4 separate regions of the Homo sapiens genome follow, and all the other regions are linked to region 3. Evidence: promoter capture Hi-C in 16 types of primary human blood cells and fetal thymus (Javierre and others, 2016). All regions are on one chromosome and are shown on one strand. Each heading gives the region's core, a stretch centred on a gene start or on the middle of the fragment in contact. The rest is flanking DNA. Distances are from core to core; before and after follow the strand shown.

Region 1 (6,306 bases), core at 2,325-4,824, 5.8 Mb before region 3:
TTCAGATCCTCTTTATTTCCCTAGGACGCTCTTTGCATATAAATCACAGGCACATTTGCTGCATCAGTAATTATGTTTCATAATTTAAAAAATACAGGACTTAATCTCTAGATAGGCTATTACTAAGTTGGTTTTTGGTGAAACTGACCTTCAGATATACAATTATAATGCATCCTCGGATATGCCACTGAGGTAATTTTAGATATGCCATTTCTACATAGCTGCTATACACTGGTCTGTGGCATTGTTAATGCCATTATTTCACAGATTTAATCACAGCTGATTTGTGTTGGAATGCACCCAGATGTTCTTTCAGTGGTAGAGATAAGCCAGCTCTGAGTCTTTAGCATGGGAACTGGTCCATTGTTGCTGCAGTTTTTAAAGTTTTTAATATTCTTTTGTATCTAAAGAACAGTAATTTGTATAAGAATTTAGAAACTAAGTAAAATATCTCCAGGGACAAAATGAATGCAAGGATCAGTCATGTGACCTTCATGCTCCTCTCTCACTCTGTGTACACATAGATACATATATATATAATTTATGTATATATGCATAAATTAAACACATCAGAAATAATTGAACATGATCTTCATTAAATTTATTTCAAACTAGTTCACACTGGCAATCTTCTCCTAAGAACTATAAAAGATATGACCTGCCATAACTTTGTCTCTTACACATAATCCTTAAGAGCCTCCAAGAGCAATTAGCTCCATTATAGTCATTTAAACTGTAAATTGTTATCTTTTCTACTGAACTTTTGTTGACTTGTTTGCAGGTCACAGTGGTATGTAAAATTAGTAAACTTCATAAACATATTTGAAATATATTCCAGATAGCCAAAAAGCTCTGGTAAATTACACCAACTTACATGTCAGTGCAATGTTTTTAACCATTTCTGGGAAACAAAATTCAACAGCATGTTTTTGTTGTCCACGTTTTTTGTTCAACAGAATGTTTTTGTTGTCCATGTTGTCCGTGTTTTGTTGATGGAACGAGGTTGAAGGACCTTGAATCTTTTATTCCATGAACTTACTGAATTTGGTTTAAGATTTCATTAGGTGTGCTAAATATTTCAGAGAAGGACTTACTTATATTTATTTCCTAGAAAGGAAATTTTATTAACGATAAATTTTTATTTACCAATAATGAACAACTCTTCTTCTGTCTTGACTCTAATTTCACCAGTGTTTCTCAGTACACTCTCTTTTCTCCTGACTTTTTCTTATCTTTGCAGAAATGAGACAGTCAATAACAGATCCAGTCAATTTTCACTTAGTAGAACTTTGATCAAAATGCTCAGAATACTCAGCAACAATGAAGAGGAAAGAGGTATACTAGGTTCATCTTTCTATGACTTAATAAAGGAAACTAAATCAAAGTGTCAACAAAAGATGCCTTAACTACATCAAGTGTTATTCTTCCTTTTGGCAAATGTGGAATGACCCATGAATTGAAAGCCTTATGCTCAAATTTATTTCTTTGGACAATAATTTCTAGAACGTGTTATCACAAAAGGTAGAGGAAACATAAAAACTGGCAGCTCTATGAAAATCATGACACCTGCTAGAGAAAGTGGAATTCATGACTTTCACTAGAATTAACACTCCACGAAAGCAGTGACTGCTGCATGACTTGCACCACAGAACAGAACCTGGAAGGTCCTAGGCCACCACAATAAATATTCCATCAGTGAACAAATGGGAGATGATAGTAATTATCCTTAAGACTTCAGAAAATATATAAAGATGTCTCCTTCAGTGATATGCTTGAAGAAGTGCCTGATAAAAGAGCAATTAATCTATTATTCACTCATTTACCTAGTCACAAAGTATTTTTTGAACACAAACTACTTGTTAGTTATTAAAGCTTTGGAGATAAACAGGGAAGGAAAAAAATAACCTTGTTCCTTTACTTAAAAGCTTATAATAGAGGTAGTCAAAGAAAGACCTAGTACAAAAGCATATCAATAAATGTGTAATTACTGGTTGTGATAGGACCATGCAAGACACAACCAAAGCATAGTGAGAAAGAATTTTCCTGGGGCATTGCGATGATGGGAAGGCAGGGCACCTGTTTAAGTGGTGAACAGTGTCAGGAATGAGTATACAGTAAAAATGTTCTTTACTTGCAGAAACTAGAGAGATGGTAAAAGCTTGGATGGGCCTTAGAATCCAGCACGAACAAGGCCTACCCTCATGTGAGTCAGGGTGCTGGCTAGCTGAGGGCCAAAGCAAGAGTCAACCAGGCCCTGTGCCTTCCTCCAGGCTCCCCAGGAGAACTGGGAACTGCAGATCAGAAACTGCAAAGCTCAGGCCTGCATTATAGTTATGGCCTTGCTCCCCACTTACTAAGGATCTGGCATTAGCCAGCTTCTTTTTTTCTTTTTTTTTTTTTTATCTCCACTAGTCAGTAAGAATGGGAATAATACCGCACTAGATTGCTGGAATGATCAAATAAAACAGTTAGTTGGAACATGTGATGTAAGCCATGTAACTATGAACTGTGATTGTGATGATGAGGAAGTGGAGGAGGTGGATGGAAGTGGTAAGGATGACAAGTTTTAATGAGGCTTTAAACCCTTTGTGGAAACCATCTAAAATCAAACATTCGCATGTTTTTAAATACCCATAACAGTATCTAGAGCAGTGGTTTTCAATTAGAAGCATTTGGAAGTATGCACAGGGAATGGGAGTTACAATTTTTTGATGTCGCATGACTGAGACTACTACTAGAATATAATGGGCAAGTATGCCAAAGGTTCTGCAACACGTGGGCCATTCCCACACACCAAAGAACTGTCCACCCAAAATGCCAATAGTGTCCTGTTGGGAAGCACTGATGAATGTCCAACACAGAGGAAGCATTCATTAAACATTTACTAAATAAATGAACATAACTTATACTACATATTTCCTTCAGAGCACAATCTCTTGGAAGGCTCATTCTTCTTCACCTTCCCAGCTCCCCAACACTGAACCTGACACACAAGCATTTAGTGAGTTGTCTCTCAAACATTCCATCAAGACATCAAGACAATCTATTAAACTGCAAGAAATTCTAACTTGACATGGGCAAGTTAAGGTAATGATGTTCAACACATTCTCTCCAGGTATAAAGGAAGGCTGGAAAGATAATACTAAAACCTAGATGTCCTATGGAAATAAACAAAGCTTTGCTCCATCACCAGGTGTTTAATTTAAATTTTGAAACATGATCATTCCAAAAACAAAAATAAGAAAAGGCAATAATTTATAAAGATTTATATGCTTTACAGAGGTAAACTAACCCAAAGACATACTTTTCTTCTGAGTATCAGCTTGAATGTCAAAATTAAGCCACTTGGCTATCTATTTCTTCTGGGGGAAAAAGCCACCAGAATGTATCATATTACATACTTCCATGTTTCAAAAGAACAAAAGTCATTTTCTCCAGGACTGACATAATGAGAGCCAAGCAAATGTTGAAAGTAGCAAAAGGTTGCAAAGGAACTGAATGAAGAATAGTATAAAACAATGGCAATAGAGAAAAGCATGCATCATACAGTAGTTTAAAGATTAGATCATTTTTCCTAATTCAGAAAAAGGGCAAACGAGTATACAATAAGCCCATAGCCGGGTGCCTGTATTCCCAGCTACTTGGGAGGCTGAGGCAGGAGAATTGCTTGAGCCCGGGAGGCAGAGGGTACACTGAGCTGAAATCGCACCACTGCGCTCCAGCCTGGGCGACAAAGTGAGACTCCATCTAAAAAATAATAATAACAACAATAAGCCCATAGCATTAAAGAAAATGTATGTAGCAATGGGAGAACTTTTCAGATTTCTAAAATCATCAGAATAGAAACGGTGAATTACTGCAAATATACTTTTAACTCATACATTTTTAAAACACTGGAAATTCAATTGCAAGAATCCAAAAAATTGACTGTTTGAAAGACTAAGAAAAAATAACCAAATTTAATTTCATAATAGAAGCTTTTCATGTCTCAGGGCTGCCAAATACTGCTAGATTCTTAAGAATAAATTATCTATACCAATATAACCAGAAACTGCATTAGAGGGGATCTGTATGACGTGGCGTATAAAAGAAAAAATTCCCAGATGAAAGAGCGCATATAAGCAAATGAACAAATAAAGAACTCTCATTCAAAGTAATGAATACATTTTGATATCGGAAAGCTTCTCAATCTGTGTCTTTAAAGAAGTTAACTACAACAAAAGCTTCTCAATCTGTTTCTTTAAAGAAGTTAACTACAACATCTTTGAACTACTAACAATTTCCATTTATGTATGACCAGCTCATCTGAACTAAGTGTCAAGATGAAGCTAATTTTAATGCATTTTGTTTTTCTCTGTTATATACATAAAAAAAAAAATCTGGTAACGTATAGGCTATTTAAATGAATTCTTAGAAATTCATAGCAGGCCTCTAGTGGTATGGAGGATATAATGAATTTTATATTTTTTTAAGTACTGGAGTTTTTTTCACAGCAAGGAGGAGGAGTATCACCTGATAATACAGAAAAAAATAGATCACAAATAGATAAGAACCAAAATATTTCTTCAGGATGAGCACTTGGGTTTTAGTGCGTATAAAGAAGTTGGATGGAATGGTTTGGATCAATTTTCATTGACAGCCTTGCTTCCTAGCCACCTATTCTGAAGTGCACTCGATAAAAAGAGAATGTCTACTAAAATGACCTTGTGTCTACACAGCTTACTTCCAGATTACAAGACTCATCTGGCATCACAGGCCAAGCATATTCCATACAACTGGACACATGACAAACTCAGAGCAATTGATTACTATGTTTAGGTTTATACATTCATAAAAAAGTAAAATTTGAACCATCAACATGGCCAAGCACAGATGTTGTTGGCTCTCCCTCAAAAACTTATTGAGGCTTTAGTGTTCTTAATTCTATTACCAAAAAAAAAGCAATTCCAAAAGGAACCATAGAGGAGTTGAAGTCATTAAAAATGAGGAGGCCTTTCTGTTTTAACTTTTCTTACATACATATGCAAACTCAGTTTTACCCTGAAAGATGACATCTAGGAAAAAGTCCATTTTGTAAGCACCTACTGAAAAGAGAACTTTCTGTAGTATTGGCTGACAAAATGCAGTTTATCCCAAACTCTTAAAATTATTACAAACATGGAAGTCTTAACACAGCTCCACTTATTTTAAAAGTTTCTCAAATAGAATATGACCCCCTCACCTTCTTCCAAAAATAGTTAAGTGGAATATTTTAATAATTCATGTCTACAGTTCCCTTTAATAATTTCATTGATTTATTATGATACCAAGGGTATTTCATTTGGAGGTCTAAAATATCCCCTTCTTTGTGACTAAGAGGTAAATGCACATTTGAAGGGGTGATATGCCTTATGTTCTTCGAGCAATGTAATCTGCTGTGTGACATAAATTTTGGCTCTGATCTCACACTGAGGTTTTCACTCCATAGGCACCTGCTTGCAATTTAAATTGAAAGAATCAAAACTTGGTCTTGGATAAAGGAAAGATCCAATTTTCTGTCTGTGTCCTCAACGTAAAACAAAGATTCAATAGTAGTATACAGATTGCCAGAAACCACAGGCTAAAGAGATGTGGCAATTTCCTGAAAGATTTTATGTTTGGGGGGTGGGGGCGGGAGGGGGGCAGGTAGGGTGGAAAGGAGTTGTGGGAGGGGAGAGAGAGACAGAGAGAGAGAGAGAGAGAGAGGAGGGAGAGAGAGAGAGAGAGAGGAGAGAGAGGAGAGAGAGAGAGAGGGAGGGAGGGAGGGAGAGAGAGAGAGAGAGAAGAGAGAGAGGAGAGAGAGAGAGAGGGGGAGGGAGGGAGGGAGGGAGGGAGGGAGGGGGAGAGAGAGAGAGAGAGAGAGAGAGAGAGAGAGAGAGAGAGAGAGAGTCTGCAAGCCCACCATGATGGTCTCTCAAGCCCGCTCAGACATCTGCCCACCATCCACTGCAAGCCTCTTTCAAATGGTCACTTCCTATTATAAGGTTAAACTATAATCAACAAATCCCTTTCTTTCTCCTAACTCAAAACTGTAGTTTCCCATCTCCTTAAAGAAAAGGCACTATCCACCATTTGCTTTCTATTGTTAAAAGGGGCAATGCGTATCTTCTTTTCTTTATGGCACAATTATTAATATTACTCAGAAAGTCCTACCTTTACAAGTTATAATAAGTATCAACATTTATTTGAAATCATACTGTAAAATTTAAAAGGCATCCATATTTATGTTTTATTCTCACAATGACATCTCCAGGTCTTCAAACGGAAGACTACGACACAAATGGCCTG
Region 2 (6,212 bases), core at 217-2,716, 6.3 Mb after region 3:
CACAGAGAAATCCCAACTGTACCCATCATAATGAAACAGCAAAACACTCCAGTTAAAAAGATCTGAAAAATAACAGAGGGGGAAAAAAAAAAAACCAAGTTACCTGCAAAGAACTAAAGATTAGACTAATAGATTTCTTAGGAGCCACAATAGTAGTCAGAAGATAGTAGAATATCTTCAATAGTGGAGAGAAAAATAACATCAATTTAGAATTGTGACATTGTTTCACCCAGTGAAACAATTCCTAGGGGACCTGGGAGAAAATAAATGCATTTTCTGACAAACAAAAACCTAAGTCATTTGCCAATAAACTCTGAATGGAGGAAATTCCTCAGAATATGTTTTTGGAGGAACAGAGAATACCTCAGCTGGAAAGCTCAAAACACAAGAAGGAATGTCAACAAAAATATGGAAAATATATAGGTAAATCTAAGAAAAAGTATGACTTGCATAAAACAATAATATTGATAATGACTGATTTGTGAGGTATAAACCATATGTTAAAACTAAGATTCAGGACAAAAACATTATATAAATTGGGAGGAGCATGATTAGAATGAAAGAATCCTTCAGGTTTTATTTAAGATGGAGGGTGTGGTAAGTGGTGTGCAAACAGGCTCCCCTGGCTCCAATGAGCCACACATCCTGTCACTTACGCCTTTGTGTAGTCTGTTCTCACAAAGAATCATGGCTCGCCTTATGCAGCCAATGGAAAGCAGCAGAAGTGAGACTCTATTTGACTTCAAGTCTAAGTCATAAGAAGTCTTGCAACTTCCACTGGGTCTCCGGAAGTGCTCCTTCTCAGAACCCAGTGCCACACTGATGAAAGCTCCAGTCACATGTTTCCCTGTGGGTGCTTCATTTGACAGCCTCTGCTGAGCTCCCCGCTAGCAACTGCCACCAGCTGCCAACCATGCAAGTAAGCCGTCTTAGACACTGAGTCTTCAGATGGCTTTAGCCACTGCTGCCATTTGATAGCCTGAGATACCGTGCAAAAACTGCTTAGTTCAACCCAGGCAGCCCACAGAACCATGAGAGATAATAATTGCTACTTAAAGCCACTGAGGTTTGGGGTGGTTTATTACACATCAGTTGATAACTGGAACAGATAATAAAGACTGTTAGGAATATATATTAACATGGTTAAGATCATCATTAAAAGAACAGGTGTAGAGATGATAACTTCTGATCTATAGAGGGAAAAATGGAATGAGAAATTTAAAATGAACCCTGAATCTAAAAGAGGACAAGACAGGAGGAGGAAAAAAGAAACAAAAAGCATAGAATGTATTAAAATTACAGAATAAGAAAATAAATTTTACTATATCAGCAATCATAATAAATGCATCTGGACAAAAATCTTCCATTAAAAGATTAAGAATGGCAGATTGGCTCAAAACAAAACAGTCATATTCTATTTGTGAGACATACCTCATATATAAAGTCACAGAAATATTTAAAGTCAAAGTATCAGGAAAAAAGATATGCCACCCAAAATCTCACCCAAAATAAGGGCTAGTATTGCTATATCAACAGCAGACAGTGTATAGTTCAGGACAAAAAGCTCCCTACAGATAAAGAGGGTCACTATATAATGATAAAACTGTTGTTGGGAGAGCTATGACAGCTTTAAACTTATATGCTTCTAACAACACAGTTCTAAAATAGATAAAAGTGAAAATCACAGGTAGAGCACTGGAGACTCTCCCGCCTCCCTGTGTTCCCCATGCCTTTTTGTGCCATTCTCCCTGCTGTAGTCCCCATGTTTTCTATCTTTGTTGAGCCTGTGATTCCCCTGACAGAATGTAATGGAAGTGGGGCTGTCCTGGTCCCAGGCCCAAGCGTTAAGATGGCCTGGCAGCAGGGCTGGCCCAGGAGAGGCACGCAGGGTATCCTGGGTACTCACTCCCAGCTAGGGCCCCTGCATGAACCTGAGAGTGAACACCTCCTTCCATTTTTGAACCCTGGGTCCCTCTGGCCTCACCCTAGTTCGAGCCTTTGCTGGGAGCTTTCAGTTTTGTGATCTTGGGAGCCTTGCACTACCATGTAAAAAGTCTGGCTACTCTACTGGACATACCACCCAGAGAGGCCATATCGTAAGAGAGAAGTGTGTGCCTACATGGAGGAGAATTGAGGAGCCCAGCCTCCAGCAAGAAGGAAGGCCCCATGTCACTCTTCCAGGCACACCCCAGCCCCTTTGGGCCACCCTCACTGAGGCACAAGACACATGAGGGAAAAAAACCGTCTTGGAGGTTCTTGCCCCAACAGATACCCCTACTGTACCCTGTCTGAATCTCTCACCCATAGAATCATGAGCAAATAAAACAGAGTAGCCACTAAATTTGGGATAATCTGTTATGCAGAAATAGTTGAACAAAATAGCAGGTCTTAGAGGGAACTTATAACCTTAAATGCTTATAACAGAAGAGAAGAAAGGCCTGAAATAAAGTTCAGAGTTTACCTCTAAGAGCAAGAACAGTCGAATCAACTCAAGGAAAACAGAAAATAAAGGACAAGAGCGCATATTAATGAAACAGGAAACAAGCATCTGGTAGAGGATAAACAAAGCCAAAAGTTTGTTCTTTAAAAAGCCTAAAGAAAAAAAAAATCTGACAAGATTAATCAGGAAAAAAAGAAAAACTTTCAAAGTAATGTGAAAAGGACATAATCACAAATGTTGCTGAGGTTAAGCAGGTAATAAAAGGGCATTATAGATCCACAATCCTTTAACTAAATCCCTCGTGACTAGTTGTGTTTCAGAAAGCAGAATTTAAAAAATTAGTTTCTTCCATTGATGAAATATTATTGAATTCCACCCACAAGGGCTGGAGAGATTTTCCATAATTACACACGTTAGGATATCTGTGGTAAAAATGTAAGAATATTTTATATATGGGATCAAGACTGTAGAGTAACCTCCTGTCACTTCAAGTCCAATTTTGCTGCTTCCAGTTTTTAGGGCTTTATGGATTTAAAGGGATTGGGGACCTGTATAAAAAAACTGCATGCCAATAAATTTGAAAATATGGGGTCCCAGAAAAGTTTCTTAAAATCAACTTAAGAAATGATAGAAACCCATTAAATTGAATCGTTAGTTTTAAATCCTCCCGCCAATAAAATGGTCGGCACAAGTGCCTTTATAAGCAGTCCTACCAAAGATTCAGGGATTGGGTATGTCCCAAATAAATACAAGTTCTTGGAAGCAGAAAGATGGAGAATACTTTTTAGCTCACTTTATGAGGCTAGCATAATGTTGATATCAAAATAAGACAAAGACAGTACAAGAAAGGAAAGTTAACGGCCAATCTCACATAGAAAGAGAAATGAAATTAATGTTCATGCCTTGCTCATGAACATGGATGTAAAAATTCAAAAAAAAATTGGAAAGGAATCTAATGATGAACTAAAAAGATATGATTATGATTAACTGATCATGGTATTCATGATTGGCTTAATACTAGAAAATTGATTAGTCTAATTCATCAAATTAACAAAGGAGAAAATCTAATAATCTCAATAAACAGAGACAAAATCATTCGATAAAATGCAATATTCTTAGTAATAATTCTTAACCTAATAAGAATATAAGATGACTCTCATATGTATACAAACCTTTAACAAACACCATATGTAATGATAAAATATTAAAAGAATCCCTGTATAGTAAATGAGGATGCCTGTTGTCATGAGATCCTAGCTATTGCAGTAAGGGAAAGAAAAAGCAATAAAATGTACTAGGATTTGAAAGGAAGAAACGAAATTGTCATTTTTTGCAGGTAATATATTCTCTACTTAGCAAATGGAAAGGAATGTGAATTAGAATGAATATAGAAGTTCAAAATTGCTGGCTATGAAGTCATTGAATAAAAACCCATTGCATTTTTATATACTAACAATGAACAGAAAACATTTTTCTATTTACACCCATGCCAAAGAATATAAAGTACCTAGTATAAAACTGACAAAATAACTCTAAGCTCATTATGGGGTAAATTGTCAACTATTGAAAGACATTAAGGAAAGCCTAAATAGAGTAACCGCCCCCCACCCCGCCTTATCTGAGGGGAATATATTCCAAGACCCCCAGTGGATGTCTGAAACTGAGGATGGTACCACATCCGATTGTTATCAGTCAGAACACATTTTTGTTCATGCCTTCCACCCACAAATGTAACGGCTTTTCCATCGTAACTAAGCATTTGCTATGCACTGTGACCATAACTTTTGTAGTTTGAAGTGCGACAGGAGAACTAACAGGAATTTCTTTTTCCATTTTCACAATTTCACGGATTAAAGATTTCTTCTTACCCTAGATCTTAGCAAGCTCAGCATACAATTTATTTTTTCCTCATTAAGTTGAGAATTTTCACCTTTTTGTGTAAAGGAAGCCTTTTACGGCTTCTTTTCAGCATGTCTGAATTACCAGCGTCACTACTCTTGCACTTTGAACCAAAGCACTGTGATGCAGTGACAGTCGATCTGGTAACAGAAGGCAGTTACCAGATCTAATACTAAGTGACTCATGGGCAGCAGCATCTACAGTGTGGATCTGCTGGACAGTTCCTGGGCAGGACGGGCTGGGATGGCACGTAATTTCATCTTGCTACTCAGAATGGCATGCAATTATAAATTTATAGATTGTTTATTTCTGGAATTTTCCATTTAGTATTTTCTAACTGCTGTTGACTGCAATTAACTATGAAACTGTGGGCCATGAAACCACGGAGAAGTGGGGGGACTACGGTATTTCCCAAGAGGTAGACCACATTTTGGACAGGAAGATTCAAATCATAAAGTTAGTTTCTCTCCACCCCCGTCAAAATCCTAACAAGATTATTTGTCAAGCTTAATGAGTCTAAATTTGTGTGGGAAAGCAAAGGTTCAGGGTAATCTGAAGGAAGAAAAATAAGGTGGAGAGGCTTGCCAACTAAAGGTTCATTGTAGGTATAATAATCAGGGCAGTGTGGTAATTTGCAGGGAATTTTGACAAAAGACAGATGGACCAGGATAGAGATCCCAGAAACAGACGCATACTATATGAAAATTTGATGACGGCTTTGTGAGGAAAGGATGTGCCACTCAATAAATGGTGCTGGGAGTGTTCGTTATTCACATGGGAAAGAAAATAATAACCAACCTCATGTAGTAGAAAACTTGTAAAAATTAATTCTGGGTGAATTTATGGTATAAATGTGAAAAACATCTGACATCGATGACAGAACCTTCTGGATTCCAAATTCATTTATCCAGCTTCCTGGTGAATGCCAACCCTTGGATACCTAGTAGGCACTTGGAACCTAGCATGATCTTCACCTGCATTCAATCCACTCTTCCCACACTTTTCCTATCTCAGTAATTCCAGCCTTCCCCTTGCTCAGACCCCAAACATTTAAAAAAAAAAAAGTTAAAATGGAATCTTTATAACTGAAAAGGTTGCAACCTATCTTAGAAGCCAGCGTATTTTCAGAAGTAAAAGCAAATTTAAATTTTCATTGATGTCCTGAAGCTTCCAAAACAGCTGCTACTAAGCCCACACAGTGTTTCATTTTTTATATTAGGCAACTCCTGTCCCCTGGCCAAGTCAACTGCAAGGCTTAATGACTTATTTTATAGACATTTTGAAAAAAAAAAAAAAGGTGGTTCTTTTGTGGTCTGTGTGTTTGGTTTTATTTTATTGACTGCCTGTTCAGTTACAGAAATAGAGGAATGAATAAAACTGATCTCACCTAAAAATCCAGCTAAATTTTAGCAGATTGGGCATGGCCGATGAGTGGGGAAAGGGCTGAAAGAATCACCTGCGTCCAGTGCAAATAGCACAGTGGCGATCGGGGGGACAGAACTGTGCCCAGGCTGCAGTTTGTGAGCAATGGATGTGAGGAAACTCTGAGGTTTCTGGGTGATGGTGTTGTTAAATCAAGCAGAAAAAGCGAGTGCTGTTTCTCTATGATGGAAATCTTAGAAAATCTTTTGTACAAAGAACTTAAACAAATTTACAAGAAAAAAAACAACCCCATCAAAAAGTGGGCAAACAGACACTTCTCAAAAGAAGACATTTATGCAGCCAACAGACATATGAAAAAATGCTCATCATCACTGGTCATTAGAGAAATGCAAATCAAAACCACAATGAGATACCATCTCATGTCAGTCAGAATGGCGATCATTAAAAAGTCAGGAAACAACAGATGCTGGAGAGGATGTGGAGAAATAGG
Region 3 (6,204 bases), core at 3,672-6,171:
TTAAAAAGGCCCTTGCACACAGTAATTGCTGTAATAACTGATGAATGGATAATGAACAGAAGATTATATATGGAGCCGTGTAATCCTTATTTATGAGTAATGCCTTTCCTAGACTGTGGAACCAACAAAATTACTGCAAGCAATGTGGTGGGGTAGAAGGAGTCAGAAGACTTGAGTTGCAGTTCCAGGTCTGCATGTCCTTACATAAGTCACTTTAATCTTGTTCGCTGATACAGTCTTATTGCTCAAGGTAACTAAGAAAATTAAATGAGAAAAGATATGTAAAAAAGTCTGTAAAATCAATCTAAAGGATTATATAGCTATGTTATATTAATTCAGTGCCCCAAATGAAGTGGATGCTAGACTAACTTACCTCACTAATTCAGTGTCAAATCAACTTTGCTGCCGGTCCCACTCCAATCTTATTCTTCAATTTTAGTAACCGGATTCCTATCCTTTCTTCCCACACCTCAAGAGGTCTGCTGCCTGGTTCCACTACAAATGTAAAATGGGATACCACCACTGACTCCCTAGTCCTTGCTATCCAGAATTCACTCCACTGCCTGATACCTTCTACCCTCACAGTGTGATCTCTGCTTATCAAGACCTCTTGGCCTATCAAAACCTCTTGGCCTATCAAGAACTCTTGGGCTATCAAGACCTCTTGGCCTATCAAGACCTCTCGGCCTATCAAGACCCCTCCTTGGATCCTGTAATCACAGGTCTGGCTCATGTGAACTACTACTGGTTTTCAGTTACATCTTCAACTATCAGCAACATCAACACTCAAAATTGCTTGCTGCTGGAGGTGACAAAAAATTTTAATTAGTAAACACGTAATGCAAACTAGAGCCAGCTGTCTCTCACCTAGTTCCAAACAATCATTTCTCGCTGCTACTCATTTTGGCCCTTCAAGACCTTATTATCTAATCAAACGGGACTACTGACCTCTTCTGAACATGCCCAATCACATCTTTGCTCAAAAAGTTCTTTCCATGTAGCACACTCTGGTCCTCAAACTTAAATTTTTCCACACCCCAAAGTAGTGCGTCCCCTATGAATTTTTCTGATTACCACATCTTGAGTGACTTCTTCCTCCAGATTTCCATGGCTTTCTGCTAAACATCTTTTACGGCACTTACTATTATTGCATTTTGTATTATGGTTCTGACTTTCTTCTACTTTAGATCTATATTGTCCAATATGGTAGCCAGTAGTCACATGTGGTAACGGAGCACTTGAAATGCGTTTTGTCTAACTTGACATTAATATGAAAATAGTATTAGTATGAAATGAGTAGAAAATGGGATGTAAAATATACATTGACTTTTATATTGATTACATATTGAAATAATTTTGATATATTGGGTTACATAAAATATATTATTTAAAATAATTTTACCTGTTTCATCTTACTTTTTAATGTGGTTACTAGAAAATCCAAAATTATGTATTTCTACTAGACAATGTTGCTTTAGACAGGGGCCACTGCACAAAGTTTAGCAGGCTGTTATCCGCACAGGGGCATTTATAAAAGGACAAGAAGGGCTAAAATCAAGGCCATCCTACACTCACCAAGCCATGCACTCTGGAGGGGGCTGTGTCTGCTCAGGGGCAAAAAATCTGTTGCTTCAAAGGCGCCATCTCTTCACCAAAGTGTGACCCCTGGGAGCTCTGTGTGTCCAGAGAGCATGCCTTTTTCTAATTTGCATAAAGGCATCATATAAGCTAGCGACAGCCCTGAGATGGGTGACGACGCCTTACTCATATTCTGCCTGCCACATACTAGTGGCAAAGCAACTGAACAAATTAATGAATGAGTACTCAACTCTACTTACCCTCTTATTTTATTTTTGAGACGGAGTCCTACTTACCCTATTTATTTTATTTTACTTTTGAGACAGAGTCTCGCTCTGTCAGCCAGTCTGGAGTGCAGTGGTGCAATCTCAGCTTATTGCAACCTCCACCTCCCAGGTTCAAGCAATTCTCCTGCCTCAGCCTCCCGAATAGCTGGGACTACAGGTGTGCGCCACCATGCCTGGCTATTTTTTTTTATTTTTAGTAGAGATGGGGTTTCACCATGTTGGCCAGGCTGGTCTTGAACTCCTGACCTCAAGTGATCTGCCCGCCTTGGCCTGCCAAAGTGCTGGGATTACAGGCGTGAGCCACCATGTCCGGCCTACTTACCCTCTTTAGACACATCTCTTCTTATCATGTGATGACATATAACACTTTATCTGGTTAGAGAATATAGTTCTCATTAGGGCTCACCACTAATCAAAATCACTGTTTAACTTCAAGATTCAAATTTTCATGTCTGTCTTCTAGCACCACATCAAAAATTAATAATCACTGCATATTTCTTTTATAGCTTTGTATTTCCAGATAAGCATTTGACCATTCCATAATACTATGAAAATACTTATTAATGTGTTTACATTTTTGAAAGATCAGTATAAAAATAAATAATGTAACACCCAAGAATCTCTAATTTTTTCCAACCTACCTGATTGCATTTCTCTTCTTGTCTTAGAACACTCGATTCTGGGAGATTTCACAATTTCAGAGGTGCCTGAGTCTAATGTCCTTTGTTTTTCTTCGAGAGAAGAGTCTGTAGTATGTTGAACAATGTTTTTTTTCTCTTTCTTATTTTTTTGTGTAAATTCTTTGCTATCCTTCTTCGGACTTATGTTTGAATCTATCTTAAATTTACATGAGGTTTTCATTTTTTTAATTCCTATAGAATTATCTAAATCAGTTTTATTTTCAGAACCCTTGTGATTAGCCTTCTTGGTTTCTTTCTTTTTCTCAACTAGATTTTTTGAATCGATTTCTTTTTTAGTCTGGGTTTTTTTCTTCTTTATTTTCTTTTGACTCAATGCTTTGCTATCTTCACCAGAGAGATTGGAATCAGAATCTGAAAGGTCGTAAAAACGCTTCAAATCCTCTGTAGTGCTATGGCTAATGGGGCGCCCTCTTTTATCCACGGCATAGTTCAACTTGAACTTCTTGTCATGAAACATGGCTCGAAATCTCTTGTCAATTTTGACTTTTCGATCCTTTTCTGGCATTTCCCAAAATCTCGGGTCCTTTGCAACCCGTCTAAACCGCTGGTCACTCATTATTTCTTGTTTGGATGACATTTTTAATTCTTAATCTCGACCAAATGCTTGAAGAAAACAAATACTGAAAAATAAAACAAATGTTTTAATGGTAATAATGGTTAGTACAATAATTAAATGTTTTAAAACACATTCACAATATATTCTAAGTTAATATATTCTAAGTTAAGTGTACATAAAATAGAGGTAACAAGTCTAATTTCATCTCTCCAACGTATTCTGGGTCACATGCAAAAAAGCAGAAACATACCAAAATATCCTCTTTCCATGACAGATCATTTAGAGAAATAAACTTAAGGTAGACAAAGCAGAATCCCAGGGCTTTATGGAGGGGAACAAATGTTTATTCATCCATTGCTCTCACTTAGAATTTCTATTTGTATACCAGTATGTGTTACTAATTGAAGGCAAATGTAGTTAAGATTCCCTAGGCCGAGTGCGGTGGCTCACCAGCACTTTCGGAGGCCAAGGCGGGCGGATCACTTGAGCCCAGGAGTTCAGGACCAGCCTGGGTAACATGGTGAATCCCCACAAGAAATACAAAAATGAGCCCGGCATGGTGGCGCGCGCCTGTAGTCCCAGCTACTTTGGAGGCTAAGGCAAGAGGATCACTTCCACCCGGGAGGTCTTGGCTAGAGTGAGCCTAACGGCACTACAGCACACCAGCTGGGGCAACAGAGTGAGACCCTGTCTACCAAAAAAAAGTAAGAAAGAAAGATTCCCTAGCCTCCGTTGGCCTCATTTGTTTCTTCACATTCTGGTCTCATTCTGCTTACTCCTTATCTCCGGCTACTGCCAACAAACAGCCTTTAGTTCTGTAAGACTAGCATTCTAACTAAACAGACCAAAATCAACTCAGGTTTAGCTAAGAAAGTTTCCTTTTTAAATTCGATCATCCTTCAAAAGTAATAAAAAGTTTAAAAATAAAAAGTAAATTTGAGTCTCCAGGTAAAGTCTCACACCAGTTAATAAATATCACTTCTTTCTATAATATCTGATTCTACCAGTGATGAAGGCCCAAGTGAGCTCATTCCCCCAAAACATACTAGAACATATACATATGTGTGTATAAATTAATATTGTTCCCTTGTGAAAAGTCTCCAATGGTTTAGCATCTCTGGATGGGAATTTTGCAAAGAGCCAAAAGTCGTTGATTATTAAGCAACCCCCCCCCAAAATGATTAAAAGGGCAATATTTCTTATTTAAAAATCAAGTCCTTTTAATTACACTAACTAGGAAAAAAAAGGAAGCTATCGCTGGTGCATTTACACATTTTTCGATGTATTACAGCACTTAACTCTCTGAGCAATCTTACGAGGTAGGTACCACCTCAACCAGGAGAAGTACTGCATGTATTGTAAATGTTTAGAAGGAAAGCACTCATTATATGTCAGATAATCCGAGAGAGGGGAAGGCGACCGGACCTCACTCCCGACACGCGCCCGCATCCCCGTAGCCCACCCTCCCCTTCTGCCCGCTCTCTAATTCGGAGAACACAGGGCTGGCCCCTGAACTAGGGTCTCCTTTCCACCTCCTGTACCGCAGGGGGGCAGCTAACAGACTGATTCGAGAAGCGACCCTGAAAAGGATCGATGAAGACTGAAGAATGAGACCGAAAAAGGCTCAGGAGGAAGGGGCAAAACCCCTCGCAGATCCGAAAGAGATCCTGTTAGAGACTAGTTTTTTCCCCGCGCCACACACACACACGCCCTCAAGCCCTTCATCTCGAGCTCTTCAACTCCAGTCCATCCCCACTCACCGTCCGCAGTCCTACCAAGCCTCACGTGGGGCTCACACCCACAATCCTCCGCGTGACGCTCCGCCGTAATGGCAAGCGAACTAGGCCAAACTACTTGCACGTTCCCTCGAGAAGATCTTTGGAGTAGACACAAAAGCCGCGCTGGCGCATGCGCACAAAAAGCGCCGGCAATTGGGGTCGCAGCTGGAGATGCTGCGGCCGGCAGGGCTCTGGCGCTTATGTCGGCGACCTTGGGCGGCGAGGGTCCCAGCGGAGAATCTTGGCCGTAGGGAAGTCACCTCTGGTGTCTCTCCCCGCGGTAGCACCTCGCCCAGAACCCTGAATATTTTCGACCGGGATTTGAAAAGGAAACAGAAGAACTGGGCAGCCCGGCAGCCCGAGCCGACCAAATTTGACTACCTGAAGGAGGAGGTGAGCCCGCGGGGCGGCGGGGCGGCGGGGCGGGCGACGCGGAGGCTTGTTTTCCTCTCCGCTAGTTCCGGCTAGGCCCCGAGCTCACCCCACCTAGCCGTCTGACCTTGACCAGCAGCCCTGCCTCTTTCGGCCTCTACTGTAATCACGCAAGGCCTGGCCTCGGATATTTGTAACATGCTTTCATTCATTCATGCATTCATTTCGGCAACGTCCTTGAGGCTGAAAGGACCTTATAGAGGCCTCCAGTGAAGCTCCGGAGAGGGAGAGAGTGGGAGAGAAGGTTAGGAGGACCCAAATCATCAGGGCCTTGCAGGATAGGGACTTGGGGTTTTCTTCTGTATCTGCACTGTCCAGCCAGTATGGTAACTGCCGGCCACACATGTGGCTGTTGAACACTTGAAAGGTGACTAGTCCAATTGAGATGTGTTGTAAAATACACACGAGTATAGTGACTTAGTATGAAAAAAGGATGTAAAATAGCTCATTAAGAGCTTTTATATTGATTACATGTTGCAGTGATTATTTTTGATATATTGGGTCACATGAAATATATTAAATATAAATTTAAATTTTTCAATTAAAATTTCTCTCGTTTTTACTTTTTTTCTTATGTGGCTACTAGAAAATTTGAAATTACATATGTGGCTCTCATGATTTTTGGTCAGCACTGCTCTAGGGGAATGTGAAGCTCTTGTTTTAATCAGTGGAGTGATCTGACTTATGTTTTAGGAAGATCAAATTAAGATTTCTGATTTGTCTTGGCTCGTTTGAGAAACCTTTCTCCCTGCCCAGGTGAGCCAGAGACTGAGGGTTTCTACTTTCAGGACACGCATTCTCAAGTTCAGGCCTCAGTAAATTTTTATTCAGGAGTGGAACAAAGTTGGAGTCAAGTATAATGCAACAAACAG
Region 4 (6,032 bases), core at 3,364-5,863, 6.9 Mb after region 3:
AGCTAGTGTGAACTGATATGTGCTGTAAGTATACAATATACACTGAATTTCAAAAACTTCATATGAAAAAAAGATGTAAAAAATACTGATAGCATTTTATATTGATTACCTGCAGATATAATATATATTAAATACATGGAGTTAAATAAAATGCACTATTAAAATTAATTTCACCTGATTCTTTTTACTTTTTAACATGTGGTCACTAAAAAAGATTAAAATTGCACATGTGGCTTACATTATATCTCTATTGGACAGAACTAGTCTAACCATTCTTTGGAACCCAGCGTAAGTAAAACGTTGATATGATTTGGCTGTGTCCCCATCCAAATCTCACCTGGAATTGTAATAATCCCCATATGTCAAGGGCCGGGTGGAGATAATTGAATCATGAGGGTGGCTTCCCCCATACTGTTCTCATGGTAGTGAATGAATCTCACAAGATCTGATGGTTTTATAAATGGGATTTCCCCTGCACAAGCTCTCTTGCCTGCCACCATGTAAGACATGACTTTGCTTCTCATTCACCTTCTGCCATGATTGTGAGGCCTCCCGAGGCATGTGGAACTGTGAGTCAATTAAACCTCCTTCCTTTATAAATTACCCAGTCTCAGGTATGTCTTTATTAGCAGAGTGAGAACAGACTACTACAAATCTCCTTAAAGATGCCCCTATTTTTATGACATTCTTAATTATCTCTTTTGTTCTCTGAAATCCTATAATGGATTCTACCATATACCTGACCATCTAATTACATAACACACCATAAATTTACTATTATTTTGTATCTATTCTTCTCACTACATCAATGCCAGTTCTATATCCTAATTTAGGACTCATAGTAAGCACTCAACTTTTAATTAGAATCTGGCCAGGCATGGTGGCTTATGCCTGTAAGCCCAGCACTTTGGGAGGCTGAAGTGGGAGGATCGTTTGAGTCTGTGAGCTCAAGACCAGCCTGGGCAACATGGCAAAACCCCGTCTTCTACAAAAAATACAAAAATCTGGCCGGACATGGTGGCTCACACCTGTAATCCCAGCTCTTTGGGAGGCCGAGTCGGGCAGATCACCTGAAGCCAGGAGTTCAAGACCAGCCTGGCCAACACGGTGAACCCCTGTCTCTACTAAAAATACAAAAATTAGCCAGGCATGGTGGTACACACCTGTAATCCCAGCCACTCAGGAGGCTGAGGCATGAGAATTGCTTGAGCCCAGGAGGCGGAGGTTGCAGTGAGCCAAGACGGCACCACTGCACTCCAGCGTGGGTAACAGAGTGAGACTCCATCTCAAAAAAAAAAAATACAAAAATGAGCCTAGTGTGGTGGTACATGCCTGTAGCCCCAGCTACTCCAGGGGCTGAGGTGGGAGATTACTCGAGCCAGGGAGGCCAAGGCTGCAGCAGTTGAGGCAAGGTCAAACTACTGTACTCCAACGTGGACAACAGAGCAAAGATCCTGTTAAAAAAAAGACATGGAATCTTTGCTGGAGCAATATGGTAATACACAGGGTTTTTTGGTTTTTGTTTTGTCAACAGTGTAGGAAGAACTGGAAGTCACAGGACCTAACAGCTCTTCGTTCTTCCTCTAACATAAGTAAACCGTCTGCTACATGGCTTGATACGTGTCAAGCCTGCCTGTGCCTCAGCTTACCCCTCTGTAAAATAAAGTTAATCATACCAGACCAGTCTATAGCCAGGTGAAAGTATCTACATCCAAATTGGAGTTATTACCATGATACTAAGAAATACTCTACTTCCACAGCTAATTTTATGTTTCTCACCCAGTTGTTTTAAATACAGACTACTTTTTAGGAAAAGAGAACAAATTCATCACTATTATCAAAAATAAGAAAGACGGAGAAAAATTACCTATCAAAATACTGGTCCTATCCTATTAATGGTGGGAGATATGTAATGGGAAAGAAACTGTTAAAGGCCTACTTCAAGCTGAAGTCATTTATTCATCATACTCACAATAATCCTTTAAAAAGCAAACATTACCATACCCATTTTACAGAGCAAAGAAACCGAGGTTCAGAGACAGGCTACGTAACTAGCTCAAGTCATGAAGCTGCAGGCGGCAGGGACAGGCTGCAAATACCCAAGTAAGTGGCATAATCTTTGCATACTTAAAAAAAAACTTTATTATCACTTGAAGATAAAATATATGAAAAGCAAAAGTGTTATATAAATACACACATAAAAATACAATAGTAATTACTATTCATTTCCTTCAAATAGTTTCCTTAATCTTGGCTTAATTCCTAACTTTCAGTTCAAGAGGCCTTTGTTTTCTAAGTAGACTTTTTTTCGAGTAGCAATGAAATAGAATATGTGATTAGGTAGGAACTAGTGCATTACGTACTACTTTTTAAGTCTTTAATAAATCACAGGAGCAAGTGAAAGTTTACATTAAATATTATGACTAGAATTCCTCAGACACATTTTACAAAAATCTAGTCCCTACAAAGATCACAGTAATAAACAAAGCAAACTGGGCCACTCCACTAGTAAGTATATCAACAAAAAACATACACCTAAGGAAATATAAAAGAACCTCTCCATGTTACAAAACTGAGGTCATGATGAGTTCAGTGAAATGATAAAAGAAAGTTCCCTAAAATAAGACCTACACCTTAGAGTGAAACTACAATTTTACAAACTTGAAAAGAATCAACTTTCTCAGAATGGGAACAATGTACTGTGTGCTAAGAAATAACCTGATCTAGGTTTACTTGATTCTGCCTTTATAAAATGTAGCCAACTTAATCTTGCAGACCTGGACAGAACAAAAATTTAAACGCTAAAGCACAGAAAAAGGCTCAAAGTATCAAACGCTTTAAAACACAGCTCAACTCTCCTTTATCAAAAATGTCCCTGCAGTAGGTGTTAATCAGTCACTACCAGGAACTCCACACAATGCAACCTGTGTATTGTGCAACCTGTGCGTGCATGGTATCTACAGGAAGTAGAAAATTCAGTTTACCAAGAACGCCACACTTCACTCTCCACACTTCACTCTCAAAAGTCTTGAAAACGAATCCCTGTAACAGCAACTAATTTACATTTCATTTCAAACTGAACAAGTCAGTGTAACCTCAAGGTATGTGAGATTGTGAATAACTTCACTTGGCAAAATCAGGTGTGGTTTGGTTTGGCTTGGGTTCTTCTCCCCCTCAGAGGTAGAATATAAATAGAAATAATCAGCAACTTCTGATCTCATGAACAAGATCTTTATTTAAAATCTTCACACGTTAAATCATTTTATGCAATATTCTTTCAAGTGACAGACACATTAGCACTAGGCGATTTTTGTGAATTTTGGGACTAAAAGACACCTGGAAGAAACATAAGGTGTTCTTTCCTTCGCCACCAAATACACAGGTAAGTGTGTCTATAGATAGCAAAGGTGTTTTCATCCCAAAGAAAAGTTAAGACTTAGGATGTAAAAAAATACAGAAAACAAAACATAGCCTAGGCGAACCAGCTACAGATCACATGCAGCAGGTGACAGGAAGCCTTGTGGACACCTCACACCCACAGGGGCGAGCTTCATCACAGGTCAACTCCAAGCCCACCTGAGCTCCTCAGAACCTCCACCTGGCAGGCCATAAACCAGAAGGTGGCAGACAGCATCACTGTCATGCCGGTAATAAAGGAGAAGCAGCCTCCCTGAACCCAAGAAAACCACCCCTCTCTCCAAGCAGGAAGAGAAGGCCCCTTCACACCAAGGACACAAAGAAACTGAAGCAGCCAGACCCAAAATAAAAATTAAATTTAAAAAGCAGCATGGGAAGACAGATGACAAATCTGTGCTGGGATCGCCTGGAATCTCGGTCTATATGGGGGTCTCACACTCAAAAGTAAAAATAAAATTTAAAAGGGGGATGACAGAGATGAGAGCCCAATTAGGTCTGTGCTGGGTTCACTTGGGGTCTCGGTCTACTTAGGGTCTCAGACTCAAAAATAAAATTTTAAAAATGAAAGGGGGAGGTGACAGTTCAATGTGTGCACGTGATGACCACTTGGGATCCAGTTCACTTGCTGGGAGGACAGGGGACAGGTACCTCTGTGCCCGGCCTCCAGGTTCTCCGGGAGCGCAGGCGCCCAGCGAGAATCTGGGCTAAGTTTAACTCGAGGGCGACGGGAGCAGTGCCCGAGGGCCAGGCTGCGGCTTTCTGGAAACAAAGCCCCGGGGGTCCAAGCCCAGATCCAGGGAAGGGGGTCGGACGCCCACCCATCCCCCTCCCCAGCCTCCCAGCCACCGACCCCTGCACAGAGGAGCGCCCTCCCGGCAGGTGCCCCTAACCCGGCGCCCCGACCCCCGCGCCCGGCGCGCGCCTCACCCAGCAGCGCCCGCAGGTGCTTCAGGCGGGTCAGCACGTCCTTCTTCGGGTCCAGCACCTTCTGGGTGGACTTCTTCACATCCCCGTGGCTCCTTCGGGAGAACATCCCGCGGCAGGAAGCCCGGGCCCCGCCGGCGGGGCAGTAGGCGCCTGCGCCACGCGAATCAAAGCATAGGGTCGAGGCCGGCGCGTGTCGCGCGGGCCACTCGCCGCCCCCAGCCCCGCTGCTGCCGCCGCCGCCGCCGCCGCCGCCGCCTCAGCTGTGTCTCCAGGAAGGAGGGGCGGGCCGGTCACGGCGAGGGGCGGGGCAGGAAGGCGGTGTCGACGGGGAACCGAAGGCCCCGCCCCGCGGGAGGTGCCGGCCGGCCCCTTGGGCGCTACGCACGCGCACACAGGCCGAACTCTCCTGGCGGGACACTAGCCCGTCCGCGCCAAAACCTAGCGGGGACGCGCTCAGAGGGCCGAGAAGGCGCCTCGAATCACAAAGGAGCTTCTCTCACGCACACGTTGTACTACAAGTCCCGAGATGCACCGCGAGACAGTCCTCCAATCAGGCTGGCGGTCTTCGGCACGATGGGAGTCAGTGGGCCGGCATTGGGCACGTCGCCCCGCCCTGCCGCGGGCCGCAAGTGCTCCTGGGAAATGAAGTTCTCCAGCAGGCGACGCGCTGCGACCTCTTTTCCAGGGTCGCAGAAGCGCAGGGCGGCCTCTGTCCGTCCCCTGCCCCGGCAGCCTAGATCGCCCGTGGTTTCACTCTCCCTCCTGCGCGCCCACCCCATTTTCCTCTAGTGCAACGTGAACCACACACGCCCAAAAATCTCAGTAAGAAAAGTGTCAAGGCTTTTCAAATGCAAACTATTTTTAGGTTTAGCTTCTGGATTCACACAAGGGAGCGAGTCGAAGCCCCTCTGACCGTGCCGAAATCGCAGCTCTAATTTCACACTAAAATGAGTTGCTTTGGCACTAGGGAAGAGCGTGCCCCGGTGAGGAGTTCAGCCGGCCCCTAGGTTCCTGGAACCCAACCTCACTTGGGGTATGGAGGTCGCTCGCTCAGAGGGCTCCTTGGGATCTTGCCTCTTTGTAGGAAGGGTGCGTTCTCTGTTGTGCAAGCCACATGGCGATCCAGTAGCAGAACCAGAAATAGAACCTGAGGGATCTGACTCAGGCCTGTATACTTTTTAAAGCCAGGCGCTTATTCCCTGGGGCAAGACTTTGAGCTGAAAGATGGTCAGGAGATTTCTTACACTGTAGGATTGTATAGTGGCATCCGAATCCTGCAAGTTTTGACATCCTTTCAGCTTTTTCAGCAAGTACTTAAGGTAGAATCACGTGGTTTCCATCCAAATTGGGACAACACAACTGTCTTTTTCTCCTCTAGCTGAACTGTAACTTGAGGGAAGAGACAAGGATTTACACGCCTTTGTATCCCCATCCCTCAGCACAGTATTTGGCCCATAGGGTCACTCAATAAAAGTTTATTAAATGAAATACAATAAAAAGCTAAAGTAGTCCTACATATTTCAACCAGGCAGGCGAAAAGGAAAAAATAAATAAATAAACTCACAGTTTTAGAGCGTCTCTCTATTTTTAGATTTGTGTAATATTCCTTTGTATAGACACATTCATACAAAGGAATATTACTCAGCAATAAAAAAGAACAGACTACTGATAAACCCAATAACATGGAT

Evidence for each region. The method cuts DNA at HindIII sites, captures the fragments that hold promoters and counts their contacts. A CHiCAGO score of 5 or more calls a contact.
Region 1: a contact is called between a fragment that was not itself captured here and the fragment with the promoter of ESF1 in region 3, in 1 of 17 cell types (naive CD8 T cells). The highest score is 5.7, in naive CD8 T cells.
Region 2: a fragment that was not itself captured here is called in contact with the fragment with the promoter of ESF1 in region 3 in 1 of 17 cell types (naive CD8 T cells); the score reaches 5.9 in naive CD8 T cells.
Region 4: a contact is called between the fragment with the promoter of RALGAPA2 here and the fragment with the promoter of ESF1 in region 3, in 1 of 17 cell types (naive CD8 T cells). The highest score is 6.2, in naive CD8 T cells.

Annotation. Positions count from the first base shown.
Region 1 is chr20:8,012,622-8,018,927 of GRCh38, forward strand. All of the region lies in intron 1 of TMX4 (thioredoxin related transmembrane protein 4), which reads right to left. Among named protein-coding and RNA genes, the nearest start is that of TMX4, 4.0 kb to the right of the region's middle. The HindIII fragment of the contact is 801 bases long and covers 3,175-3,975 here.
Region 2 is chr20:20,059,996-20,066,207 of GRCh38, forward strand. All of the region lies in intron 2 of CFAP61 (cilia and flagella associated protein 61), which reads left to right. Among named protein-coding and RNA genes, the nearest start is that of CFAP61, 11 kb to the left of the region's middle. The HindIII fragment of the contact is 6,753 bases long and covers 1-4,843 here.
Region 3 is chr20:13,779,998-13,786,201 of GRCh38, forward strand. ESF1 (ESF1 nucleolar pre-rRNA processing protein) reads right to left here and starts at 4,922. Exons shown (of 14, transcript NM_001276380.2): 1 at 4,883-4,922; 2 at 2,507-3,186. The coding sequence starts at 3,143. It overlaps NDUFAF5 (NADH:ubiquinone oxidoreductase complex assembly factor 5), which reads left to right and starts at 5,031. Exons shown (of 11, transcript NM_024120.5): 1 at 5,031-5,293. The coding sequence starts at 5,072. RefSeq lists enhancers at 4,967-5,256, 5,252-5,941. The HindIII fragment of the contact is 9,427 bases long and covers 1-6,204 here.
Region 4 is chr20:20,708,031-20,714,062 of GRCh38, forward strand. RALGAPA2 (Ral GTPase activating protein catalytic subunit alpha 2) reads right to left here and starts at 4,614. Exons shown (of 40, transcript NM_020343.4): 1 at 4,345-4,614. The coding sequence starts at 4,450. RefSeq lists a silencer at 4,505-4,764 and enhancers at 4,756-5,050, 4,875-5,074. The HindIII fragment of the contact is 11,955 bases long and covers 1-6,032 here.